Linked DNA regions of Homo sapiens: region 2 is linked to region 1. The links are contacts of gene promoters, found by promoter capture Hi-C in human tissues and cell types (Jung and others, 2019). All regions are on one chromosome and are shown on one strand. The core of a region is centred on a gene start or on the middle of the fragment in contact, and the rest is flanking DNA. Distances in the headings are between cores, read along the strand shown.

Evidence for each region. The method cuts DNA at HindIII sites, captures the fragments that hold promoters and counts their contacts. A contact is called where the count stands out against the background at its distance.
Region 2: a contact is called between the fragment with the promoter of LRRC3 here and a fragment that was not itself captured in region 1, in 1 of the 25 tissues and cell types used here (lymphoblastoid cells).

Annotation. Positions count from the first base shown.
Region 1 is chr21:44,499,254-44,503,664 of GRCh38, reverse strand. It overlaps TSPEAR (thrombospondin type laminin G domain and EAR repeats), which reads left to right. Exons shown (of 12, transcript NM_144991.3): 12 at 3,729-4,411. The coding sequence ends at 3,882. Among named protein-coding and RNA genes, the nearest start is that of TSPEAR-AS1, 4.6 kb to the left of the region's middle. RefSeq lists an enhancer at 1-503. The HindIII fragment of the contact is 6,330 bases long and covers 1-4,411 here.
Region 2 is chr21:44,453,991-44,458,790 of GRCh38, reverse strand. LRRC3 (leucine rich repeat containing 3) reads right to left here and starts at 3,281. Exons shown (of 2, transcript NM_030891.6): 1 at 3,136-3,281; 2 at 1-2,293. The coding sequence starts at 2,146. The coding sequence ends at 1,373. It overlaps LRRC3-DT (LRRC3 divergent transcript), which reads left to right and starts at 3,507. Exons shown (of 4, transcript NR_047476.1): 1 at 3,507-3,547; 2 at 3,739-3,814. RefSeq lists silencers at 2,923-3,352, 3,441-3,620 and an enhancer at 3,784-4,284. The HindIII fragment of the contact is 13,764 bases long and covers 1-4,800 here.

The DNA of each region.
Region 1 (4,411 bases), core at 338-2,837:
TCACCAAGGCCGGCTTCCCCCCAAGGGCTCACCAAGGCCGGCCTCCTCCCAGCGCCTTGCTTCCCCCTGAGGGCTCACCGAGGCCAGCTTCCTCCCAGCACATTGCTTCCCCACTGTGGGCTCACCAAGGCCGGCTTCCCCCCAAGGGCTCACCAAGGCCGGCCTCCTCCCAGAGCCTTTCTTCCCCCCGAGGGCTCACCGAGGCCGGCTTCCTCCCAGAGCCTTGCTTCCCCCCGAGGGCTCACCAACTCCGGCCTCCTCCCAGAGCCTTGCTTCCCGCCGAGGGCTCACCGAGGCCGGCTTCCTCCCAGAGCCTTGCTTCCCCCCGAGGGCTCACCAAGGCCGGCCTCCTCCCAGAGCCTTGCTTCCCCCCGAGGGCTCACCGAGGCCAGCTTCCTCCCAGCACACTGCTTCCCCCCGTGGGCTCACCAAGGCCGGCCTCCTCCCAGCGCCTTGCTTCCCCCCTGTGGGCTCACCAAGGCCGGCTTCCACCCAAGGGCTCACCGAGGCCGGCCTCCTCCCAGAGCCTTGCTTCCCCCCGAGGACTCACCGAGGCCGGCCTCCTCCCAGAGTCTTGCTTCCCCCTGAGGGCTCACCGAGGCCAGCTTCCTCCCAGAGCCTTGCTTCCCCCCGAGGGCTCACCGAGGCCGGCTTCCTCCCAGCACCTTGCTTCCCCACTGTGGGCTCACCGAGGCCAGCTTCCTCCCAGAGCCTTGCTTCCCCGAGGGCTCACTGAGGCCAGCTTCCTCCCAGCGCCTTACTTCCCCGAGGGCTCACCGAGGCCGGCCTCCTCCCAGAGCCTTGCTTCCCCCCAAGGGCTCACCGAGGCCGGCCTCCTCCCAGAGCCTTGCTTCCCCCCGGGGGCTCACCTTCTCTCGCAGGTGCCACCGGCTCACAGCGAGTCCCAAGTCAGGTGTCATTTCCGAGATTGGCTGGGCCCAGTGGATGGCCCGGCGCTGGCTGCACCCGTGTGGGATCTGAGCTGGGGCCCTGCCCCGGGTGTAGCCACAACCCACGAGTGCTGGTGCTTCTGCCTTTGGATTCTGTCAGGGATGCGGCGTGTGGACATCCTAACATGGGAGTTGTTGATATTTAATTTTTCTCTCATAGACACTGTGGTGTTCTCATTTATTTCCAGGAGTTTTCCAAGTATCGTACGTTTAACGAATGGGGTTGGCTTTTTAACTTTCATTTGCAGCTGCTCATCATGACAATCATTTTCTCGCCCCCTAACCAATCAGTTCTAATAGCTTTTCTTAAAAAGATTCTCAGGGGACTTAGGAATGTAATTACCTCTGAGAATAAAGAACATTTCCCCTTGATTTCTAGTGTTCTAATTGATTATGTAGCTTGCTTCCCTAGCTAAAGATTCCAGAACAATCTTGGATGGCGGCAGAAGTGGCAGCTGTCCCACCTTGCTCTAATTTAACGAGCACATCTGAGCATGGCCGTTTGATGGGCTGTGGGCCATCCGGGCCAGGGCTGAGGTCTCCTTTGGCATCTGTGAGTGCGTGGTGCGGTCCACTATGTTTACTGTTGATGTCATGATTTATAGTGAGACATCTCCTCGCGTTATTAGACCCGATGCCACTTGGTGATGATGCAGAATTATTGAATAAGCCACTGGCTTCCAATTGCCTGTCTTTAAGCTTTTAGCATCTATAATAGGAAATTAGATTGCTCGGTGGTTTTCTTTTGGGGACTTAACTTTATCCAGTTTAAAATGAAGCCTAACAGTAAATACACACTGCAGGGCTTTCTAACTGCACCTGTGGACTGGGATAGTCTGAAGAATAGGATTTTTTCTCTCATTTCTGACAGCTGGGTTAAATTCAGTTATAAAGCCATCTGGGCCTGGGTACCTTTTTAATAATATCTCCTTCTTATTTATTTTTTGGGGGGGACAGGGTCTCACTCTGTAGCCCAGGCTGAAGTGCAGTGGCATAACCTCAGCTCATTGCAGGCTGAAATTCCCAGGCTCAAGCAATCCTCCCACCTCAGCCTCCCTAGTCGCTGGGACCACAGGCATGGGCCAACCATGCCTGGCTAATTTTATTTTTTCTTTTTGGAGATGGAGTCTCGCTTTGTCGCCCAAGCTGGAGTGCAGTGGCCCAGTCTCGGCACACTGCAAGCTCCGCCTCCTGGGTTCACGCCATTCTCTTGCTTCAGCCTCCTGAGTAGCTGGGACTACAGGCACCTGCCACCACACCTGGCTAATTGTTTTGTATTTTTTAGTAGAGATGGGGTTTCACTGTGTTAGCCAGGATGGTCTCGATCTCCTGACCTTGTGATCTGCCCGCCTCGGCCTCCCAAAGTGCTGGGATTACAGGCATGAGCCACTGCGCCTAGCCCATGCCTGGCTAATTTTTGTATTTTTAATAGAGATGGGGTTTCACTATGTTGGCCAGGCTGTTCTCGAACTCCTGACCTCAAGTGATCTGCCCGCCTCAGCCTCCCAAAGTGCTGAGATTATAGGCGTAAGCCACCCCGCCCGGCCATAAATGCTATATTTGAAGGCAATGAGAAAAGGATGGGTTTTACTTGATAACTCCATATGATTCGGGAGATTAGCTTCATGTAATCTGGAAGAAAACAAAGCTTACCCCCACTTCACATTGTACACAAAAATAAATGTTATATGGATTAAAAGTCCAAATGTGAAAAAGAAGAAAAGCTGAAGGCAGTTGTATAACCTCAGGGTTCTATGAAGAAGACAAGCCCAGAAGGAAAGGCACTGGGTCGACCACCTGTGTTAAAAGCTTTCTATGGAAACAGACATCCTATTCAAAAGCAAAAGACAAACTCTTTACCACACACACGACAGAAAACCAACCCTTACAAACTAATAAAAAATGTGTCTTTAAATTTGGAAAAATGGACAAAAGATATAAATATGAATTTTTAGAAGAAAAGATGAACAGTGTGAATAAACATTATAAGGGATTTGTCCTCAAAGCAAAACCCTGCCAGGTTCTCCCCCATTTGTTTGGAAGTGTGTTAAAGATGGGCAGTGGAGTGGGTTGGGGGATCCCAGGGGGACCCCACCCTGCCCTTTCCCGTGAGAGCAGAAGCCACCACGGTTTTTCCAGAAAGCAGTCTGGAAGAATTTATTTTCATACTTTATTATTTAATATTAAATGTAAACAACTCGTGCCCTTTGATGTCGGCGCCCTGCCTTGGGGACTCCACGCCTCGGAAATGGAAGCTCCTGGGATAAATGAGTCCTTTTGAAGGCAAACCCTGGCGGCCAGCAGCCGCCCAGAGCAAGAATGAGGGCCTGGGGCAGCCCCTGACGTGGGGCCGCAGAGCAGCGGGCAGAGAGCTGGGCTCCTGTATCTGAGGACGGAGGGGTTCCAGCCTGCGTGGTGGCCTGCGTGTGTTTGAGGGGGGCCCTGGGGAAAGTCACGCACCTCACGATTGAGGCCGACCCTCGGAACTGCACGTTTGGGGGTCCCCGGGGTTAGGATCTTGGGTGGATAGGAGGTAGCGCTGGGATCTTGGTGAGATCTGGAATCTTTCCTCTTCTGGGCCTCAGCCTCCTGCTTTGCAAGATGAGAAGGCCCTCATGGCCCAGAATCGATCTCCCCACGCTGTGCCAGTCGGGGGGATGGAAGAGGCTCAGATGTGACCCAGAGCTGCTGGGTCCCTGACAGCGCGGGTGGGAGCCGGGGGAGAGGAGCTGCCCCGCAGAGCCCAGGCTGACCCGGCTGCCGCTGTCTGTTCCGCAGGTGGCAGGGCTACGAGGGCTTCGTGGCGGTGCACAGCCTCCCCACCGTCGGCTGCAGGGACTGGGAGGCCTTCAGCACCACGGCTGGTGCCTACCTCATCTACTCCAGCGCCAAGGAGCCCCTCTCCAGGGTCCTGCGGCTGAGGACACGCTGAGGCCGCGGCTGCCCGGCAGCAACTGGGGTGGCCAGGTGGGGCGGGACCCCAGCACCTCCCCCAACTGACCCTGGACGTCCAGGTGGGCCCAGCCTAGGGCATCCCGGGCCTGGGCATCAGGCAGGGTGCAGGTGGGGCCATCTGCGGCCCTGGTTCGGGCAGGGACATCCATCCACCTCTGAGTCCTTCTGAGCCACAGCCCCAGTGACGGTCTGGTCTTGCAGGCAGAGGCCCAGAGCCCCTGCCAGTGCTCGCCCATCTGAGTGTCAAGCGGGGATTTCGCTGTCAAGGAACCGTTTCTATACATTTTTACCTCAAACAACAGGACCTCGGTTCATGTCCCTGCGGCTGGCCTCTCGCCAGCCACTCCTGCAGTGTGCGTCCGGCCGCCTGAGCAGGTGTGGTGCCGTCCCGCCATTGCCGCCACCTATTTATTGTGTTTTATCTGAACGGAAGTGTATTTATACTGCTCTTTACAAAAGCACCGGTGCTCCTCTCTAGGCAGCGGGTGGGCACAGCCCCTCACCAC
Region 2 (4,800 bases), core at 2,032-4,531, 47 kb after region 1:
ACACTGATCACTCATTTACACCCCCCCCAAAAATACTCAAAGTACTTTAAAATATAAACACTCATAAAAAGGACAATAAAAAATAAAATTAGGAATTACTATCATATAGGTGGAGGTAACATCTAACCTGAATGTGAAGTAAGGTTAGTAAATTGAGCACTAAATTATCTCTGAGATTCCTGGCAGCAAAGGTGAAAAGAGAGAGTTCCTGTTGCTGGAGAAAACGAAGCATCCCATTGATTGGCCTTGAAACATCAATCCCCAGTACTCCGGGCCTTGGAAAAAGAGCTGTTTTATATCTTAGTGAGTAGAAAAAGCAAGGCACAGGGCCGGGCGCGGTGGCTGACGCCTGTAATCCCAGCACTTTGGGAGGCTGAGGCGGGCGGATCACTTGAGGCCAACAGTTCGAGACCAGCCTGGCCAACATGGTGAAACCCGGTCTCTACTAAAAATACAAAAATTAGCCAGGCGTGGTGGCTCATGCCTGTAATTCCAGCTACTAGGGAGGCTGAGGCAGCAGAAGTGATTGAGCCTGGGAGGCAAAGGTTGCAGTGAGCTGAGATCGCCCTGGGGCAGGGCCTCCCGCATCAGGCACACCCAGAGGGGCAGGAAGCAGGCGGGCCCCCAGGTATGTGGCTGCTGTCTTCCCCTGGGCAAGCTACCCTGGACTTTTCCCAGGTCTCTCTCCATATTGTTCACCCCATTACTGAACTGAAATTTTGGCACTACGGTTACTCAAAACAAACATTTGAGAATAAAAAAGGGTAGGACAGTTTGTTTGAGCTACACATCCCACTTAGCTCTCTAGAAAAACCTGGTCTCTGTTACTTTGCTCTGGAAACAGGGCTTACGTTCCAATGTACTTCGAACACTGGAACAAGGCTCATGTTTACCTACAATGCACTTTGTAAGTAAACAAGGGCAAGTCAGCTCCTCAGCACAGGACTTATCAGCGCCTTCAGCGGGTGAACCTGCACCCAAGCTCCCTCTGGTGAACCCTCTCGCTTGCAGAGCACCCCCTTAGTCCTCTGAGTGCATATCCACAGCCTGCAGGGCCCCGTGTGGGAGAGGCTGGCATGGTGGAAGGAGGCGGAATGTCACGATGGACAGCCCGGGTTGAAGTTCCACTGGGATAATTTCCTGATGGTATCGTCACGGGCAGTCATTCCGTTCCTCTAAGCTTCAGGTTCCTCATCCGTCACACGGATGTGTGGCAAAACCACCCAGCCTGGAGGTGCTGCTGTGCCTGAGTGCAACAGTGGGGAGCACACATGGCTGTGACACCTGCCTCAGGGAAGAGCAAAAGCAGCATCAGTCACCACCTACTACAAAAGTGACAGCAGCCACCGGCGGGGGTCTGCCGGAACAGGCGCTAGGGCCCCGGGCCGATGGGGTCCTTGGAGGCGGGGGCGCTGGGCAGAGACTTCAGGTACTCCAGGTGCCTCCGGGCATCCTCCTGGTTGTGGCGCACATAGTACACGACGTAGGCGATCACCATGGCGAACCAGCCGAACATGGTGACCAGCATGGCCACGTCTGTGGTCCTGTGGGGGACGCTGCAGAGGCTGGCACCCGCATCCAGAGCCTGAACCAGAGGCTTCCCCACAAACTCCTCCTGCACTGAGGTGTGGCAGGCGATCTCGTCCACAGAGTCGGGGTCCAGCTTCAGCTCCCACAGGGCCTCCTGCAGGGCGCACTCGCAGTGCAGGGGGTTGTGGGACAGGCGTATCTTGGCGCTGAGTTTGCCCAGGGCGTCCTTGGGGATCCTCTGGATGCGGTTGTAAGACAGGTCCAGCAGCCGCAGGCCCCCGGCCAGGCCCGCGAAGGTGGCGGAGCCGATGGCCTCGATGGCGTTGTGAGACAGATCCAGCTCCCTGAGCCGGTGCAGGTGCTGGAAGGCCCCGTCCGGGAGGTGGGAGATCTTGTTGGCATCGAGCTTCAGGAGCACGGTGTTGGCCGGGATGTCCTCGGGGACCTCCTGAAGGCCCCGCAAGCTGCAGAAGACAGCCACAGCCCCTGCGTGGTCAGGGCACCGGCAGGGCTGTGGGCAGGCGGCGCCCAGGTGCAGGCAGAAGAGGAGGAAGAGACAAGACTCCCGGGTGGAGACCAGCAGGAGCGAGGGGCGAGGTGGGCGCACGGTGCCCATCCTGACCTGACCTGGGGACGGGGACACGCGAGCCTCTGCTAGGGCCTGGGGATGGAGCTGGTTTCCGCAGGCAAGGCCTTATCCAACCAGACATGAAACCGCCATCCTGCCCCGCTGGGAGAAGCAGTGCAGTCCACTCTGGCAGCTCTGAAAGGGAAGACGCAGGAGGGAGCGGAGAGGGAGGGAGGGTGGTCAGCACTGCCGGCTGCGGTCACCTGGGAAACGCGTCCACTGGTGGGGAGGGTGTTGAGGGCCCACTGAAGGGTCTGGGGTGGGGAGCACGCCTCCTTAAACAGCTCTGCCTGTAACTTACTTCTGGAGACTCCCAATGCGCCCGGGAGGAGCGTCCCACAAGTGCAGGGAGCTGGCACTGCCAGGGGGCTCCGCATGGCCCAGTGGGTGGTCACTGCGGCCACCCCTGGCCACCTACAGCACCGCTGGGGACCAAAGGCCGGGCGGCGGAGTGGCGGCGGCTTGGACCACCCAGCCCCTCCCTCCTCAGGGTGGACGCCAGGAGGACGGTGACGGCTGCAGCTTCTCCCGAACCTGGAGCGCGGGTCAAGCTGGGCACGTGGCCGGGCACCAGCGGGCGCTCGCGCGCCAGGGGCTACTCCAGCAGCCAACGCCTGGCTGACTCCGACAACCCCTAAAAACTGTCATAACCCAGCAAGCCCTTCCCTGCCAGCCCTAAAGGAGCCGCGGCTCGCACCGGGCACAGAACCGCGCCTTTTCTTTCAACTGCCTGAAGAAGGAAACCGAGAAAACAGAGAAGCCAAGCCCTGTGCGCGCGGCCCGCGCTGGGCGTGGACGGCGGGGCCGCGCGCGGAGCCGGCCGGGAGAGGCTCGGACCCCCAGGACCTCCAGCCTTTAGACCCTCCGGCCCTAGGACCCCCGGAACCTGGGACCCCCGAGACCCCAGCACTCGCGGCGGGGGGATGGTCATGGGGTGGGTGGGAATCCACGCTCCCAGGGCTGGGCGGGGGCTTTACCTGCGCGGCGGCGGCCGGAGGCTGCTCTGCGCGCCGCTCCCGGGCCTCTCGGAGCCCGCCAGACCCAGCTCCACGCCTGGCGCGGCGGCCACCCCGCTGCCCCTGCGACCGCGCCCGCGACCACTAGCTGGGGAGGCCGCGACTCCGGCCTGCGCGGGCGAGGGGCGGGGTGGGGCGGGGCCTGGAGGGGGCGGGGCGAAAGGCGGAGACAGGCTGTGTCGATTCCCCGCGGGGGCGGGGAAGGGGCGGGGCATGTAAGGAGACCGGAACGGGATTTGTGGTTAGGCGGGGGCGGGGCTTGAGGGCGGGTTCTGCGGCAGGGCGGGGCCTGGAAGAGATGGGGGAGGGGCATGGGAGGGGCATGGGAGGGGCCGGTGGTGCGGCTTTAGATGGAGCTGGTACTAAGACCCAGGTCGCAGGGGCTGTGGGCGGGTTGTGGGAGTAATTGTGGCATGCTGGGGGCGTGGTTGTGGGGCTGAGGACGAGGTGGTGGGGGCTGAGGGCGTGGTTATGGGTGGGGGCGGGGTCTGCGCGCCGGGAGGGGCTGTGGGTCCAGCCCCTGCCCCTCACTCTGGGCAAATCCCCTCTTCCCTCTGGCATCAGGACTTCTGGGGCTTGAAGACCCTGGGTCTGCGGGAAGCCCCTGCTGAGCGTCCCTCGCCTACCCCGTGGCCAGTGGGTGAGTAGGGCTAGATCTCCGCCCATCTAGGTCCCCTTCTGCTCCAGCTCCAGCGTCTGACATCCCAAGGAAGGAACGCAGGGTGGGGGCATTTGAGCCGGACCTGAGCCATCCTCATGGTTTTCAAAAAGTAGCCTTATTGTGGTGTAATTGACAGACGGTAAGCCACATATTTCAATTTGGTACGTTTTAACACTCGGATACTCCTGTGAAACCATCACCACAATCAGCATAGTGAACACCCCGGGTTCCCTCTTGGTCATCTCTCCCTGCCCTCCCTCATCCCCAGGCAAGCACTGATCTGCATTCTGTCACTACTGATTACTTTGCATTTCCTATGATTTGCACAAATGGAATCATATAATATGTACTTTTTGTGTAGCTTCTTTCACTCAGCACAATTATTTTTGAGATTTGCCTGCGTCATTTGGTTTGTCAATGCGTATTTCTTTTACAGCTGCATGGTACTCCAGTGTATGAATGTACCACAGTTTGTGTCCATTCACCTGCTGGTGGGCATTTGGGTTGTTTCTGGTGTTGGCTCTTACAGATAAAGCTGATCCGAACATTGTGCACAAGTCTTTGGATGAATGCTTTTCTTTCTCTTGAATAGATGTCTAGGAGTGGAGTGGCTGGATGCCACGGTAGCCATATGTGAAACTTTTTAAGAAACTGCCAAAGCGATTGTATGGTTTTACATTCCACATCCTCCCCAGCACTTGGTATGGTTTGTCTTTTTAATTTCAAATACTCTAATAGGTGTGTGGTGATAGATGGAACTGTGGTTTTAATTTGCGTTTCCCTGTTGGCCAATGATGTTGAGCATCATTTCATCTGTTTATTCTCCATCTCCTGTAGTAAGCGTTGAGTTCAAATCTTTTACTCACTTTTAATTGGGTTGTTTATTTTCTTATTATTGAGTTTGGGAGTTTGTTGCATATTCTGGATACAAGTCCTTTATCAGATATGTGATCTGTAAATGCTTT